3 separate regions of the Homo sapiens genome follow, and regions 1 and 3 are each linked to region 2. Evidence: promoter capture Hi-C in 16 types of primary human blood cells and fetal thymus (Javierre and others, 2016). All regions are on one chromosome and are shown on one strand. Each heading gives the region's core, a stretch centred on a gene start or on the middle of the fragment in contact. The rest is flanking DNA. Distances are from core to core; before and after follow the strand shown. Region 1 overlaps ZNF283 (zinc finger protein 283). Region 2 holds the start of ZNF223 (zinc finger protein 223). Region 3 overlaps ZNF404 (zinc finger protein 404).

Region 1 (2,700 bases), core at 187-2,686, 200 kb before region 2:
TTCCCTTAGCTAGCAGTCTTTTCTATCATATCATACTTATGTCACTTTTTTCATACATTATATGACATAGCATTTCCCATATGCATTTAAACCTGCTAATATTGTCAATATACCATGCTGAATGACACTATAATTTAAAGCTTTATTTTCAATTTTAAAATATAATTAACAGTATTAATGTGTTATAAGATGATGTGTGTATCACATTGATTTTTGACAGGGTAGTTTGAGCTTAGTTGAGTGAAAATATGTTTAACAATGGTCAAGAAATAAGTAAACTTAATTGAAAAATAACTCAAAATATTTGTTCTTCCTCTTTTATGAATATCTTCTTAGGAACTTTTTATGCAACCAGAAATTATTTATTAGTAACTCTCAAGATCATTTTGTCTAAGTGAATTGGAGATCTTATAATTTAAAGTGATCCTTAAATAGCAATACAATTACTGTTGATTTTTAAAATTGATAGACATTTAAAATTTTTAAATAAGGTAAAATCTATAGAGTCACATAATTGCAGCATTATATGAAGTTATAAAAATCAATCCTTTTATAAAAATTCTGGCTAATAAATCTAAGTAAATGTAAAATTTAATTGAACTTTATATTTTTACAATTGTGAACATTTATGAAAGCAATGTTTGCTTTATCTCAGGGGTTGGAAAACTCTGGCTCTGGAGGCCAAATCCACCTGTTTTTGCAAATAAAGTTGTATTGGAACATAGTCTTGCCCATTTGTTTATATGTTTACATATTGCCCATGGCTGCCTTGATAAAATGGCAGAGTTGCGACCATTGAGTTGTTAGACAAAAGAGTTGTTAGACAAAACAAAATCAGCCAAAGCTCATTATGATAAGAATTTGATTCCCATTAAGATACATTGGATGACCACAACTGGGCACATAAGGGCTTGATTGATGGAAGCTGACATTTGGTTTGAGGGAACATCAGCGTGGGAAAATGAGGGACTTGTTGAAGCGACCTCTGTGGAATCCTCCAGAAAACTATAAAATCAGAACATTCAGATCACAAGAGCTGCAAAATCAAGGCTGAGTTTGTTATTTAACAAGGGAGTGCCTTAATGCCAAGGAGTGAGTTCAGTAAGTCTCCTAATTTGTCTTTTATTTCTACTGTAGTTTTTTTTTTTTTTTCCCTAGTGAAGGAAATAAAATGTGTGGTTTTCTTGTTTTCTTTCAGATTTGGAGTCAAAAACGTATGAGACCAAAAAAATATTTTCAGAAAATGATATTTTTGAAATAAATTTTTCCCAGTGGGAGATGAAGGACAAAAGTAAAACCCTTGGCCTTGAGGCATCCATCTTCAGAAATAATTGGAAGTGCAAAAGCATATTCGAGGGACTAAAAGGACATCAAGAGGGATACTTCAGTCAAATGATAATCAGCTATGAAAAAATACCTTCTTACAGAAAAAGTAAATCTCTTACTCCACATCAAAGAATTCATAATACAGAGAAATCCTATGTTTGTAAGGAATGTGGGAAGGCTTGCAGTCATGGCTCAAAACTTGTTCAACATGAGAGAACTCATACAGCTGAAAAACACTTTGAATGTAAAGAATGTGGGAAGAATTATTTAAGTGCCTATCAACTCAATGTGCATCAGAGATTTCATACTGGTGAGAAACCCTATGAGTGTAAGGAATGTGGGAAGACCTTTAGCTGGGGATCAAGCCTTGTTAAACATGAGAGAATTCACACTGGTGAGAAACCCTATGAATGTAAAGAATGTGGGAAGGCCTTTAGTCGTGGCTATCACCTTACCCAACATCAGAAAATTCATACTGGTGTGAAATCTTATAAATGTAAGGAATGTGGGAAGGCCTTTTTTTGGGGCTCAAGCCTTGCTAAACATGAGATAATTCATACAGGTGAGAAACCTTATAAATGTAAAGAATGTGGGAAGGCCTTCAGTCGTGGCTATCAGCTTACTCAGCATCAGAAAATCCATACTGGTAAGAAACCTTATGAATGTAAAATATGTGGAAAGGCTTTTTGTTGGGGCTATCAACTTACTCGACATCAGATATTTCATACTGGTGAGAAACCCTATGAATGCAAGGAATGTGGGAAGGCTTTTAATTGCGGATCAAGTCTTATTCAACATGAAAGAATTCATACTGGTGAGAAACCTTATGAATGTAAAGAATGTGGAAAGGCCTTTAGTCGTGGCTATCACCTTTCTCAACATCAGAAAATCCATACTGGTGAGAAACCTTTTGAATGTAAGGAATGTGGGAAGGCCTTTAGTTGGGGTTCAAGCCTTGTTAAACATGAGAGAGTTCATACTGGTGAGAAATCCCATGAATGTAAAGAATGCGGAAAGACCTTTTGTAGTGGGTATCAACTTACTCGACATCAGGTATTTCACACTGGTGAGAAACCCTATGAATGTAAGGAATGTGGGAAGGCTTTTAATTGTGGATCAAGCCTTGTTCAACATGAAAGAATCCATACAGGGGAGAAACCCTATGAATGTAAAGAATGTGGGAAGGCTTTTAGTCGTGGCTATCACCTTACTCAACATCAGAAAATTCATACCGGTGAGAAACCTTTCAAATGTAAGGAATGTGGGAAGGCCTTCAGTTGGGGTTCAAGCCTAGTTAAGCATGAGAGAGTCCATACTAATGAGAAGTCTTATGAATGTAAAGACTGTGGGAAGGCCTTTGGTAGTGGCTATCAA
Region 2 (2,700 bases), core at 127-2,626:
TACAAACTAAAGCATGCTGGCCTCTGAACTCTCACTCACCAGGAGGTTGCCTGAAGAGACAACAGTTGAAAGCGTGCCTGCTACTCTCTCCCTTCTGGTTACAACTTATTTCTGCCCATGAAAAAGCCAGCTCAACTGCCTAATAGATAAGGCACCAAGCCAGCACACAGACCCCTTCCCTCTTCCTCCCCTACCTTTTAAAAGTGCCTGCTTTCTGCTCTAAAAGCCAAGCCGTGCACTTAAAGACAACACCTGTGCTACTTCCCCTACGCTAGCTCTAGAATAAATCACTTTCTTTATACCAGATCTCCCTCTTGTTAACTGGACGTTGCAAACGGGAAGCCACTGATCTACTTTTCAGTTACAGGGGCTGATGCTTTCCTGGCTTCTCATTGCCCCTCCCAACCCATTCTACCTGGCTCATTCTTTAAACCAGTGGTCCCCAACCGTTTTAGCACCATGGACCGGTTTTGTGGAAGACAATTTTTCCACGGACTGGGGAATGGTTTCGGGATGAAACTGTTCCACCTCAGCCATTAGATTCTCATAAGGAGCGCCTGACCTAGATCCTTCGCACGCACAGTTCACAATAGGATCCGCGCTCCTATGAGAATGTAATGCTGGGCTGATCTCACAGGAGGTGGAGCTCAGGCCATAATGCTCCCTCACCTGCCGCTCACTTCCTGCTGTGCCGCCCGGTTCCTAACAGTCAGTGGACCGGTACAGGTCTGTGGCCCTGGAGTTGGATATCCTTGCTTTAAACCCTGAGCCTCCTTTCAGCCATCTGACGGCTCAACAGTCACTCTATCTAGCTCCTTGAATATTGTATCTCCTCGCTTGTTCCCTGTCCAAGAACACTCCTGTCAATCATGGGAGACATTTAGACTTCATAAATTCTTTCTATTCAATATTTTCGCTCGAGGACTCTGGGAAGGACAACTGTCAGGGTAACAGTCTGCATTCCCCACCAGGAACCTGGGGCTATGAAATTCGTTCCCCGTGGGTGTTGCGGGAAGTGTAATCGAGGAGCACCATGTAGTCGCAACACTTGAGCCTAAAGGGTGAGGTGATGGACATTTTCCTTTTGCATCTGAGGCTCTGCAGTCCAGACACCTTGCGGGATTCCTGATACTTCAGCTCAGGTAGGCGTTTCCGGAGAATTCTGGGAAGAGTAGTCCATTTTACGGGAAGTGTAGTCCACTGGCTCGTGGAACACTGGGTATTTTGGCTCTGGCAGGTGAACCGTTGAATTCTGGGAACGATAGTCCAGACACTCTGCGGAGTCCCGGGCCCTTTGGCTCAGGGGGGCGGGTCCGGGGAATTCTGGGGAGTGGAGTCCAGACACTCTGGCGCAGAGAGGACACTTCCGGTCTCCTAGTCTGAGGTTCCTGCTTTAATGACCGGGGTAGTTTGAGCCATTTCTGCGTCTTGCAGGACATTTTGAACGAACCCCCTTTGCTTGAGGCTCGCAACCACCCGATGATCGATGATCGTCTCAGGGGAAAAGAAGCCTTGGCGAAGAGCAGAGGTTTAGAGGTGCGAGGGCGGGGAGGGTGTTTATTGTTCCCGTCAGCGGAGCCTTCTGGCGTCGGGGGGCTTTGCTCGCCTCCCGGGGGGTGGGATTGGGGTGGCCTTGTGTGCCCTGCTCTGAGGGTTTCCAGGACTTTGACCTCGCTCAGTCCGCCTCCCTACGTATGCAGTGTGTACACTCTTTCTCGCAGTGTGATGTGGAATGTTAATGTCTCTGTACTTCCCATTGCTGTTCTTTAAAATGGTGCTTATAGGGTCATCCTAATAGAATTGTTTTGCGAATTGAAAGAGATAATACAAATGAAAGCCTTAAAGTTGTCCCTGTCACTTGGTGAGTGGTCTCTTGTTGCCTGATATTTTAAAACGTTTGATATCATTTCAAAGCTATAGAAAAATTGCAAAAACAGTATAAGAAATTCTCATATACCCTTTACCCAAATTTGCCAAGTGTTTACATTTTTCCTGTTTGCTTTGTTGATGACCATCAACCAAATACCACCAGGAACATACCTGTAACCAGAGACAGCTGATTGGTAGCTTTCTGCAGCAAGGAAGCCCACATACCACGGTAATTGTGGGGTGTCTTGGTAAGAGGCATTTAGGAAGGGCTGGTTATAGGGTTTCACATAACATGGTAGATAATATTGGATATTATGTTAAATAATACTGTTACCGATTACATGTCAGATAGATGTGTTAAAAGAATACTAGTATTTGTAGTGTACTTACTAGATAGTGTTGGATAGCATATTACCTAGCATCATGTTATCTAATCTGCAGTTCCATATACGAATTTGTTAAATTTTTCATTTAAAGTCCTTATGACTGTCCTCTGCCCCACCCTTCACCTATTCAAAGTCCAGTTTATGCGTTGTCTTTAGCTGTCACATTTCCATAGTTGTTCATTTGGAGTTTGATATTGAAGGGGGCCTGCCTCTCCACACCTGTGGGTGTTTCTCACAAGGTGGAAATGAGAAACTGAGAAAAGAAATAAGACACAGACACAAAGTATAGAGGAAGAAAAGTGGGCCCAGGGGACCGGCGCTCAGCAAATGAGGACCTGTACCGGCACTGGTCTCTGAGTTCCCTCAGTATTTATTGATCACTATCTCTACTATCTTGGTGAGGGGGATGTGGAAGGACTATAGGGTAATGGTGGGGAGAGGGTCA
Region 3 (2,700 bases), core at 188-2,687, 180 kb before region 2:
AAAAGCCTTGTGAAAAGATGCATGCAATGAAGAAATAGGCAATCTTAGTAAAGAAATAGGAACTATAAAAGTACTAAAGGAAAATTCTAGAACTGAAAAATGTAATATCTGAAATTAAACAATTTGATAGATAGGCTTAGCAGCAGAACTGAAATGACAGAGAAAAAGAATAAGTGAATTTGAAAACAGAGTAACAGAAGTTGTCCAAGCTGAAGAACAGAAAAAAAATACTGAAGATAAATAACAAAGACAGTGACCTGTGGGACAGTACCAAAAGATTTAACGTATGAGTAGAGTAAATGCAGAAAAAATATTTGAAGATATAATGGCCAAGAATTTCTGGAATTTGGTGAAAGGCACATGTGTGCAAATTTCAGAGGCTCAGAGTACCCCAAGCAGAATTAACACAAAGAAAACCATACCTAGGCACCTCATACTCAAACAGCTGAAAACCAAAAGTAATAAGAAAATCTGGAAAGCACCCAGAGAAAAAGGACACATTACATAAGAGAAAAAACAATTCAAATGACTTCTTCTTGTAAACTATGGAGACTTGAAGACCAGAAGTCGGTGATTTATATATACATATATGAAACAATATATATCTCTTTATGAGTATATATATGTGTGTGTATTCTTTGTGTGTGTGCATATACACACACATATATTCATATATCTCCAAAAAACTGCCAACCCAGAATTCTATAGCCAGAAGAAATCCTTAAAAAATAAAGGCATTTCAGTAAAAGAAACTATGAAAATTCATCACCAGCAGACGTTCACTCCAAGAAATGCTAAGTTAAGTTCCTCAAACTGTAGGGAAATGATACCAGAGAAAAATTCAGATCTCTGGAAAGAAATAAACAGCATGGGAAATAGTAAATATATGGGTAAATATAAAAGATGAGGATTTTCATCTTAATTTCTTTAAGCAACTGGGTGTAGCACTGTGTGCCTATAGTCCCAGCTACTCCAGAGGTTGAGGCAGGAGGATTGCCTGAGCTCAGGAGTTCAAGGCTGTAGTGTGCTATATAACATCTGTGAATAGCCACTGAATTCCAGCCTGGGCAACATAGCAATACCCCATCTCTAAAAATAGAATACAGAAGACTGTTCAAATTTCCAACATGACTTTCCATGGATTACTTATTTAATTGCAAAGAAAAAATTCACCCATAACAATGGAAGGAGCTGGTGGTCAATACATGAATCAAGGGATAAAACATAGTTTCACTTGTAGGCCACCTGATACTTTACAATATTAAGTACATGATACTATCTATGAAGTAGTCTTTTGAAAATGTTTAATCTGAAACCCAATCAAGCCTCTAATCATAACCTCCAGGTCACAGTAAATATAGAGGACAAAGAAACAAGTTAATCACACCTCCAGAAACAATAAGACAAACACAGCATGTGCAACACTATTTAGGTCAAATCTAAAGTCTTCAAAAAGTCTATGTCACAAAATGATGAAGGGTAGGCTCTTGACTAAAAGAGACTTAATAAGCCATAATCATATAAAATATATGAGATTAGTTTGGTTCTTGGCTTGTGAAAAAGACAGTGCTAAAAGACATTATTTTAAAAATTGGAGAAATTTGCAAATGGAGTGAATATTTTAAGACATTATAGGGTTACTGTTAATTTTTTTGTGACAATGGTGTAGTAGACATCTAGAAGATTATCTTTGATCCTAGCAGTTGTATGTTGCCTTTTTTTTAGAGGTGAATGATACCTAAAACATTCACTCAAAAAACAGGAAAAGTGATATATGTAATATATACATATATTCATGTGTAATAAGTATGATATATATATATATGCATCTGTGTATATACATAGACATAAGACATGCATGGTATATATGTATTTGTGTGTATATATGTGTTAGTATACACATAAAAAAGAGAGACATCAGATGTACTGAAACTAGGTGAAGGGCAAACAAGCCTTCACTGCACCACTGTAAACAGCTACCTTTTCTGTAAGGATGTAAATCTTAACATTTTCATAAACTTAGGGAAAACTTTTCCAAGTTAATATCTGTCTTTTGGCTACCTAACTGTTCATTTCTAATTTATTTTAATTGTAGAGGATGCAAAATATGTGTTATCTGTATTATAGGATTTGTGAAAAAATTTCTTTAAACCACTCTCTAATTTTCAACAGCTATCCTTTCATTATTCAATAAATACACATTATTTATTCCAGCATTAATCTTCAGGGGTATGAATTCTGAATTTAAAAATTTCTCATTTAATATATTCTACAGGATTTTGTCCAGAATAAATTATATGAAGTGATGATAGAGCATTTTCAAAATATCACACTCATAGGGTCTTCCTTCTATAAGATTTATTTTTAGTAATTCTAACAATTATCATAAAAATAATGTATTTAGTAAGCAAATACGATGTGCCAGATGCCTTTCCAAGTATTTATATTCTATATTAACTAGTTTAATCTTCACTATAGCATCATAATAGTGACAACAGTAAAAATGTGCCATGGCTAAAGGCTTTCCCTCTCATTACATTAAGAGTCTCTCACCATGGTGAAATCTTTGATGTTGACTAAGTTGATAGCAATGACTAAAGGCCTTACCACATTCTTTGCATTTCTGTGGTTTCACACCAGTATGAATTGTCTCATGTTGAGTAAGTCGATCACTGCGATTAAAGGCCTTATCACATTCTT

Evidence for each region. The method cuts DNA at HindIII sites, captures the fragments that hold promoters and counts their contacts. A CHiCAGO score of 5 or more calls a contact.
Region 1: a fragment that was not itself captured here is called in contact with the fragment with the promoter of ZNF223 in region 2 in 1 of 17 cell types (naive CD8 T cells); the score reaches 5.3 in naive CD8 T cells.
Region 3: a contact is called between a fragment that was not itself captured here and the fragment with the promoter of ZNF223 in region 2, in 1 of 17 cell types (erythroblasts). The highest score is 5.0, in erythroblasts.

Annotation. Positions count from the first base shown.
Region 1 is chr19:43,845,741-43,848,440 of GRCh38, forward strand. It overlaps ZNF283 (zinc finger protein 283), which reads left to right. Exons shown (of 7, transcript NM_181845.2): 7 at 1,199-2,700. Among named protein-coding and RNA genes, the nearest start is that of ZNF283, 20 kb to the left of the region's middle. The HindIII fragment of the contact is 2,596 bases long and covers 139-2,700 here.
Region 2 is chr19:44,050,660-44,053,359 of GRCh38, forward strand. ZNF223 (zinc finger protein 223) reads left to right here and starts at 1,377. Exons shown (of 5, transcript NM_013361.6): 1 at 1,377-1,536. RefSeq lists enhancers at 1,043-1,544, 1,364-1,603 and a silencer at 1,264-1,323. The HindIII fragment of the contact is 18,414 bases long and covers 1-2,700 here.
Region 3 is chr19:43,870,022-43,872,721 of GRCh38, forward strand. ZNF404 (zinc finger protein 404) reads right to left here. Exons shown (of 3, transcript NM_001033719.3): 3 at 2,344-2,700. The coding sequence ends at 2,534. Among named protein-coding and RNA genes, the nearest start is that of ZNF404, 13 kb to the right of the region's middle. The HindIII fragment of the contact is 3,147 bases long and covers 1-2,700 here.